3 separate regions of the Homo sapiens genome follow, and regions 1 and 3 are each linked to region 2. The links are contacts of gene promoters, found by promoter capture Hi-C in blood cells and fetal thymus (Javierre and others, 2016). All regions are on one chromosome and are shown on one strand. Each heading gives the region's core, a stretch centred on a gene start or on the middle of the fragment in contact. The rest is flanking DNA. Distances are from core to core; before and after follow the strand shown.

Region 1 (2,737 bases), core at 55-2,554, 580 kb before region 2:
GGTTTCACCATGTTGGCCAGGCTGGTCTCAAACTCCTGATCTCAGGTGATCCACCCGCTTCCACCTCCCAAAGTGCTGGGATTACAGGTGTGAGGCACTGTGCTCAGCCCTCATTTCCTTTTGAACACAGAGATGTCACTATTACTGTTTGCTGAATTGACTCTCATTTAGGGTGTTAAACTAAACTTAGCATGGCTTACTAATGGGAGAGAGCTGGTTTGAGCTGCTGGAGCTCACCAGCAGCAGAACACACCAGACCAAGAGGGAACTTACTTGAAACTTAACCACAAACCAATGAACCCAAAAGACCAGCAGGACCACTAAGTTTGCTCCTACAATACATGCTGACCTGTATCTTTCATAATATTTTCATGGTAAATTATAGGATTCTATTTCCTTTTTTCCCTCAAGTTGTTATTGTCAAATCATGCCCAAGTGACAGCTGCCTTTGAGGAACATAGCCTGTTTACGTGAAGCATAAGAAATGCCTTGTGCCGGCCAGGTGCGGTGGCTCACGCCTATAATCCCAGCATTTTGGGAGGCCGAGGCAGGTGGATCACGAGGTCAGGAATTCCAGACCAGCTTGAACAACATGGCGAAACCCCGTCTCTACTAAAAATACAAAAATTAGCTGGGTGTGGTGGCACATGCCTGTAATCCCAGCTATTTAGGAGGCTGAGGCAGGAGAATCACTTGAACCCGGGAGGCGGAGGTTGCAATGAGCCGAGATTGCGCCATTGTACTCCAGCCTGGGCAACAGGAGTGAAACATCCTCTCGGGAAAAAAAAAAAAAGAAAGAAATGCCTTGTGCAGTAGGCATCTGGTCTGAGGTTTCATCTTGTTACATGGTGAACATCAGGACAGAAACAAGTAAGAATCATGCCTGATGTTATTTTCTGCACATTCAAACTTGCTAACAATTTATTGAGATTTTAAGCACTCTGTCTCTGATCTTGGGGAAAAGCTTAGTTGAAGGCATTAGAAAGAGAGGAGGGAGGCGGTAAGAATGGGGTAGCTTTGACAGAACGGTGGGAACCACCTTTAGGGTCTGAAAGGATTTGCAGATCTCTGAGTGTTGTGAAGATTTGCTCGACATTTCATCTGTTCTCTTTTAGATCAAACTGTGTTATTAACCTTGTGCCTGATAAACAACAAGTGCTTCAGGAGGCATATCGGGTGCTGAAGGTGAGGAGGAGAGTGAGATAAATTATCTTTGAACATCAGTAAGAGCTGATGGGTTAAGTCTTGTTTGTTCCCCCTTGAACTAAGAGCTCAAACTCTCTTAATTTATCCATTAAATGAATAAGGGGTGGCAAAAGGGGGAAGGGGCAGGAATACCCCGGATATGGATTACTTTCCCTCTTAGGTTGCAAAAGGTAGTAAATCCGAGGTGACAGTTGTCACTGAATGTGTTAAGGTATTTGCTTTCTTGACTGTCTCTCCTATTTGCTGCTGTACATGATCCTAGAAGAGCATCTGTGGAGCTATAGGAATCTTTGCACTGACTACTAATGATTGCTTTGAATATACTCTCTTCTAGCATGTACAGTGTTTCTCAGGGCTTCTGATTTCTTATCTGTCATGATTTCAGATCTTTGGGAAGTTACAGAAGATGGAACTTTTACATTAACTACTTGCTAAAAGGAAAGCTTGCAGGAGCTCCACAGCCTTCATTGTATCATGAGATGTGTATCTTCATGATAGTAGATGAAATATTCAGCCAGGTGCGGTAGCTCACACCTGTAATCCCAGTGCTGTGGGAGGCCGAGGCGGGCAGATCACCTGAGGTCAGGAGTTTGAGACCAGCTTGGCCAACATGGAGAAACTCTGTCTCTACTAAAAATACAAAAATTAGCTGGGTGTGGTGGTGCGTGCCTGTAATCCCAGCTCCTCGGGAGGCTGAGGTAGGAGAATAGCTTGAACCCAGAAGTCAGAGGTTGCAGTGAGCCAGGATCGTGCCACTGCACTCCAGCCTGGGAGACAGAGCGAGACTCCATCTCAAAAAAAAAAAAAAAAAAAAAAGATTCTAGCTGGGTGGGTGGTACATGCCTGTACTCCCAGCTACTTGGATGCTGAGGCAAGAGGATTGCTTGAGCTCTGGAGTTTGTGTGCAGCTTGGGCAATATAGTGTGATCACTGCCTCTAAAAAAATGTTTTTTTTTTTGAGATGGAGTCTCACTCTGCTGTCCAGGCTGTAGTGCAGTGGCAGGATTTCATCTCACTGCAACCTCCGCCTCCTGGGTTCAAACAATTCTTTTGCCTCAGCCTCCCTAGTAGCTGGGACTACAGGCGTGTGCCACCATGCCCAGCTAATTTTTGTACTTTTAGTAGAGACAAGATTTCACCATATTGGTCAGGCTGATCTTGAACTCCTGATCTCATGATCTGCCTCAGCCTCCCAAAGTGCTGGGATTACAGGCATGAGCCGCTGTGCCTGGCCAAAATTTTTTTTTAAATTGACAACAGATTTTTGAGATTTTTGGTTTACAAAGCTGTCATAGAACTCAAATACAAATATCTATATAGAAATGATTTAATGATTTAGTGATGTCTTTGTTAGTATGTCATTTTACACGCCAGTTCACTATCTCCACCAAAAATGTACTTATAAAAGGTAGAAACACTATTATAGAATCTAGATCTCCAGGTTTCCAGGTTTTTGAAATTAGCTAAATAAAATGTTAAGTTCCTGATCACTCATTTGCCTTACATTTTAAGGATAATATTTTAAAGATAA
Region 2 (2,769 bases), core at 1-2,500:
CTCTTCCGCAGCCGTGACCCCTCTCCTATCCAGCAGCCTCCCAGCAGCTCCGCTCCACCCCGCCTGCCAGCAACAGGAAGCCCTGGTGAGACCAAAGGCTCAGCGGTGCCACCAGCTCATCCGGAGATTATTCTGCCTTGGTCTGGGCTGTAGCGACGCTGGCAACCTGCCGGGAAGTGGCCATGGCCTCGGGCAACAGCGAAGTTTAGCCCAACTCCCTTCCCAGCCTCCACCCACACAAGCCTGAGAGACAGGCCAGGGTGTGGCCCCATGTCCTCCCCCTCTGGAGGGTGAAAAACAAAACTCCCCAGGCCAGAGGAAGCCAGGGAGTGGAGGGATGGGGTGAGCGCCAAACACAGACCTAGCCCTGTTCCCTTCCATGCTTCATGGAGGGATCACCCCTTCTAGATCACCCCTTCTGTCCCTGCCAAGGAAGGCTGCCAGATGGGCTCAGGCAGAGCCATGTGGCCATGCAGACTCCAAGAAAAGGAGAAGCTGGAGGAGGAGGACCAGGAGGAACAACAGGAGGAGGAGGAGGAGGAGGAGGAGGAGGAGGAGTCTGATTCTTCCCCCACTTCACAGCCTGGAGCTTCCAGCCTAACTTCCTGGGAAAGGCAGTTTGCATCACTGCTGGGGAAGAATGGGTTAAAGTCAGCCCCCTTTGCCCCATCCTTTTCCCTTCTTGGCTTCTAGGCTCCTAATTAGCTCCCTGTGGAGGCCCTGGGTTCATAAACTGGCTCAAAGTGGGGTACAAGATACCTGCACAGGGTGGGTGGTGAGCAGAGGATGGGCCAGGCCATCTTCTGAGACCACTGCCCCCAGGCCAAGGATGGGTCACATCCAGACCCCCAGTGGGACCTCCTCCAACATCAGTGACGACAGGAGACTGGCGGCTCGGGGAGGGGCAGGACTGCTCCCTGTTCAACCGGGTGGAGGGAACCTCAGCTAGGGGCCTCTCTCCCTCTGGGCAGCGTGGGACAGGCCCCACCATGCTCCGCTGACACCTGGCACACCCCAGGGAGGGCCCCTTCCTTACCTGGGGCCAGCTGTGGGCACTTGTGGCCATGGCCTCCTCGGGGCCGGACTCTCCAAGTGGCCTCCAGGAGGGCGGTGCAGGGCAGCGGCGGCCTCCGCCGTTCCCTCCCGCTTTTCTTCTGCACGGGGGCCTGGGGCTGGTGGCGGCTTCAGACTAATCTAACTCCAGAAAAGAGAGAAGAAAACAGTGGGATGGAGTCTGCGCGCCAGTGAGTGGAAAAACAGCCTCCCGGCGCCACCAGGCAGAGGAGGGCGGGCCCCGAGGGCGGCGCGAGAGGAGAGGAGCCGAGAGGAAGTTGAGATGCCTGTTCTGCAGCTGCTGCGCGTCCCACCGACCCGCTGCTCGCCGTCCCTGGGCCGTGCTGGCCCTCCGCCCTCGGCCCAGACCCGGACCGGGCCATGCTCCACACCAATGGGACCAGTCGGGAGGGCCACGTGGGGATGTGGAGGCATTGGGGAGATCTGACCCAGACCTGCCCCCCATGACAGTTTCAAGAGCACCCCACGTACTTGACCCCCGCTGGGCAGAAGCTACCAAAGGAGACCCCGCGAGGGTCAAGGGAGGGTGTCGTCAGGCCCGCGCTGAGCCCTGCAGGATGCTCAGGGCCAGGGCCCCACCCTCTACTGGCCCTTCTCCCTCAGAGTTGTCCATTGACTGGACAAACCATCCCCAATGCTGACTCTTTGACCTATAGTCAGCTAACTCCCCGGGACCTGCTTCGGATCCCTGGAGGGCTGAGGATTGAATTCAGGAGCCTAGGGATTCTCCGGGTCCTGCAGGCAGAGCTCCAACTGGTGGGTGAAAGTTACAAGGAGGCAGGTTTCTGAAGGAAGCCCTGTGTAATAATCAGAGCTGCCCAGCCTGTATCTAAAAGTGGTCAAGATGCGGGCTGAAGCGTCACGGGTCAGGAATGCTGCACAGGAGAGTCTACGGACAGGCTAGATGACCCTTAGCATGGAGGGAGAGGACCCCCGACATCTGTCAGCTCTGCAGTGCTCGTGGTTCCGTCATGGTGGAGCTGCCGAGTGACCCGCTGGCCTCCCTGAGCTGGGCTTGACCATATGTACGAAGGAAAGAAAAGGTACCAAGTTCTGCTTGTTTATTTGTTTGTTTCAGATCCCAGCATGTGCTAAACACAGTCCCAGATCCTTCCCTAAAAGTTATCTTCCTCTATCCTTACCACAATCCTGAAAATCAGGTCTTTTTTAAAAAATAATTTTTTCATTTTAAAAAAATTATAAATCTTCTCTTTATTCTTCTTCTTCTTCTTATTATTATTATTACTTTACAGAGACAGAGTCTTGCTATGTTGCCCAGGCTGGTCTCCAACTCCCAGGCTCAAGTGATCCTCCCTCCTTGGCCTCCCAAGTGCTGGGATTACAGGCATGAGCCACTCCGCCTGGCCAAGCAGGTCTTCTAATATCCATTTTATAGACAGACACACTGAGGCTTAGAGTGGCTGGGTGACTGGCCACAAGTCCTGCAGTGCTGGTATTTGAACTCAGGTGTGCCTGACCCAAAGCTTTGCTCTTCATCACATTTGTACCTCCTGATACCTCCGGGCCTTCTCTTCCCACTGGAAGTGCTGCCACCCACCAACATACACCTTGTTTTTTGCTCATCCTAATCCTCCCTGACTTCAGGGCCCATACCAACTCCTACCTCCTGGAAGAGCCCTCCCAGCCCACCTTGGCCCACAAAGATCTGAGCAACTCCTCCCAAATAATTAAGAG
Region 3 (2,700 bases), core at 135-2,634, 620 kb before region 2:
TACAAAAAGTAAAACATTAGTCAGGCCTGGTGATGTGTGCCTGTAGTCCTAGTTACTTGGGATGCTGAGGTGGGAGGATCACTTGAGCCTGGGAGGTTGAGGCTGCAGTGAGCCATGATTGTGCCACTGCAATCAGCCTGGCAACAGAGTGAGACCATGTCACTCAAAAAACAGAACAAAAAACAACAACAAAAAAACCCAAACAAAACAAAACAAAAAACAGGCTAGGCGCTGTGGCTCATGTCTATAATCCCAGCACTTTGGGAGGCCGAGATGGGTGGATCACCTGAGGTCAGGAGTTCGAGACCAGCCTGACCAACATGGCAAAACCTCATCTCTACTAAAAATACAAAATTAGCTGGGCATGGTGGCACACGCCTGCAATCCCAGCTATTTTGGAGGCTGAGGCAGGAGAATCACTTGAACTCAGGAGGCAGGGGTTGCAGTGAGCCAAGATCATGCCATTGCACTCCAGCCAGGGCAACAAGAGCGAAACTCCTTCTCAAACAAAAACAAAAACAAAAAAACAGATTGTTCCACTTACATACTTAAAATCCTCCAGTGACTTCCTGTCATAATTAGAATAAAACCCAACCTCCCTCCTGGCCTCCTGTAATCCCAGCTACAGTGGGAACGGACCACTATGTCCACTCTGACCTCATCAGGGCCCACTCTCCCCTTCACTGGCCATGCTGACCTCTCCCACCTGGAGGCCTTTTTACCTGCTTCTCAGCATGCAACACTTTTCCTGACCCCTTGTTCAAAGCAGCCACCCACTGCCTCTGCCATTTTCTCATCACATCACACAAATTGTGATTGACTTCAAAGCACTTACGAGTCTCTGAACTTATTCACTTGTTAGCCCTCACTAGAATGTAAGCTTCAGAGACCACGGAGCTCGAGTGTCCTGAGAAAGTGAATGGCACATAGTAGGTGCTCAATAAAATCGGTGTTGAAAGAATGAGTGAGCAAATGAATACATAAATGAACTACTCAGGGACCTTATGGAAAAAAAAAAACTGTTTATGCACATCACTGGCATTGCCACAAGCTGAAAAAGAAGGCAGAGTGGGTTGGGAGTAGGGAAGAATGGCGGAGAAGGGTGGGGGGTTGTATCTCTAAATCTGTGTTGTGGGGCCACATAGGGTGGACAGGGGCTGTGAGTTACAGCCTTTAGGTGCTACCCTCAGCCTGGGCTTCCCTCCAGGCCTGGCGCACCTTGATCTTCACTTTGAAAGAGTCGATCAGAAAGACCACCTTGGGGATGCCTTCCAGGGAGGGCAGCTGCCCATCATCTGGCACCTCCAGGTCGAACCTCTGCAGCAGCCAGGCCATGATGAGGAAGAGCTCCTGGCGGGCCAGGATCTCACCTATACAGGAGCGAGGTCCTGCTCCGAAGGGCAAATAGCTTACTGACGGTGAGATGAGCTGGGTCCCCGCTGGATTCAAGAAACGCTCTGCAGGCAAGGAGTGGCATCAGCCAGGGGTTAGGGCAGGAGGGAGGAGAGGCATGGTTCTGCCCTGGTTGAGGGGGAGACATGGCCCTGCCCAGGGAACCCTGATCTGAGGATGTAGCCTTATTATGGGGGAACCCCCGCCTGGGGAGAGATACAGCCCTGCTTTCAGGTAGCCCTTAACGACACAGAGGAAATGAAATATTCAGGAAGGATGGAAAAGAGATGGAATTAACCTATGAAAATAGCACCATCCGAGGGGAGAAGGGACAGACTTAATGGCAGACAGAGGCGTAGAGGGCTTCTTGGAGGGTGAATTTGCAGTTGGTTGGAAGAAGAGCGTGGGAAACCCAGCTGTGAAGAGTTTGGGTAAGTCTATGGCAGGATGAGGGTGTCAACAGGTCCGTATAGTTGGAGCCAAGAGTTTTCTAGCAGCAAGCTTGGCAGAGGTGAAGGGGTACTGGGGTGGTGGAGCAGAGTCCAGGCTCGCTGTGTGGCCCAGGGCGCAGGACAGGACAGACTCACCAGGCATGAACTGATCCGGCTGGTGCCACTCCTTCTCATTGTGATGCAGCGCCCACAGATTGATGATAACTTCTGTGCCCTTGTCCACAGCAAACTCACCGATGCTGCTCCAGAGTGGAAGAGGAAAAGTGGGTCTGGGACTTCGTACTCCCTTCCTTGCTCAGCCTCATGCCCCCTCATTCTTCCGCCGTGAGGAAAATGCCCTTTACTCCCTCATTCCCACTCACTCATGTTTTCCTCAGCTTCTGCCAGATCAAACCTAAATCCAGCCCTTCTCCATCCCTTCCCTCCTAACAGGCGCTTCTGTCTGAACACCTGTGTCTGTGGACTTTGGTGTCTGGCAGTGTATGTGGGTGTGCGTTTGGAGCTGCAGCGCATGTTATGTGCGTGCTGCAGCTGGTTGGAACATGGAGCTCCCAGCCTTTCATCCCAGACCACATGTCTCTGAGGGCAGCAGGAAGCTCCTCTGGGAAGTCAGGCAGATCTGTGGATGAGTCAATGCGTGTCTGTAGGTGGTAGAGACATGGAGCCACGGGGCTGGGGGCAGGATGATTTTTATATTTAATTAATTAATTATTTATTTTGAGACAGAGTCCCGCTCTGTCACCCAGGCTGGAGTGCAGTGGTGCAATCTTGGCTCACTGCAACCTCCGCCGCCTTGGTTCAAGTGATTCTCCTGCCTCAGCCTCCTGAGTAGCTGGGACTACAGGCACGCGCCACG

What was found. Contacts are between HindIII fragments. The CHiCAGO score rates a contact against its expected background, and 5 or more counts as called.
Region 1: a fragment that was not itself captured here is called in contact with the fragment with the promoter of CALHM2 in region 2 in 1 of 17 cell types (neutrophils); the score reaches 5.9 in neutrophils.
Region 3: a fragment that was not itself captured here is called in contact with the fragment with the promoter of CALHM2 in region 2 in 1 of 17 cell types (endothelial precursors); the score reaches 5.5 in endothelial precursors.

What each region holds. Positions count from the first base shown.
Region 1 is chr10:102,873,477-102,876,213 of GRCh38, forward strand. It overlaps AS3MT (arsenite methyltransferase), which reads left to right. Exons shown (of 11, transcript NM_020682.4): 6 at 1,116-1,185. It overlaps BORCS7-ASMT (BORCS7-ASMT readthrough (NMD candidate)), which reads left to right. Exons shown (of 15, transcript NR_037644.1): 10 at 1,116-1,185. Among named protein-coding and RNA genes, the nearest start is that of AS3MT, 5.4 kb to the left of the region's middle. The HindIII fragment of the contact is 685 bases long and covers 963-1,647 here.
Region 2 is chr10:103,451,120-103,453,888 of GRCh38, forward strand. CALHM2 (calcium homeostasis modulator family member 2) reads right to left here and starts at 1,251. Exons shown (of 4, transcript NM_015916.5): 1 at 1,037-1,251; 2 at 1-166. It overlaps CALHM1 (calcium homeostasis modulator 1), which reads right to left. Exons shown (of 2, transcript NM_001001412.4): 2 at 2,121-2,769. It overlaps LOC124902494 (a long non-coding RNA gene), which reads left to right and starts at 1,324. Exons shown (of 2, transcript XR_007062275.1): 1 at 1,324-2,117. RefSeq lists enhancers at 1-293, 242-862, 863-1,484 and a silencer at 1,323-1,652. The HindIII fragment of the contact is 3,298 bases long and covers 1-2,556 here.
Region 3 is chr10:102,829,529-102,832,228 of GRCh38, forward strand. CYP17A1 (cytochrome P450 family 17 subfamily A member 1) reads right to left here. Exons shown (of 8, transcript NM_000102.4): 7 at 1,980-2,083; 8 at 1,003-1,457. The coding sequence ends at 1,174. Among named protein-coding and RNA genes, the nearest start is that of CYP17A1-AS1, 1.8 kb to the right of the region's middle. The HindIII fragment of the contact is 1,013 bases long and covers 879-1,891 here.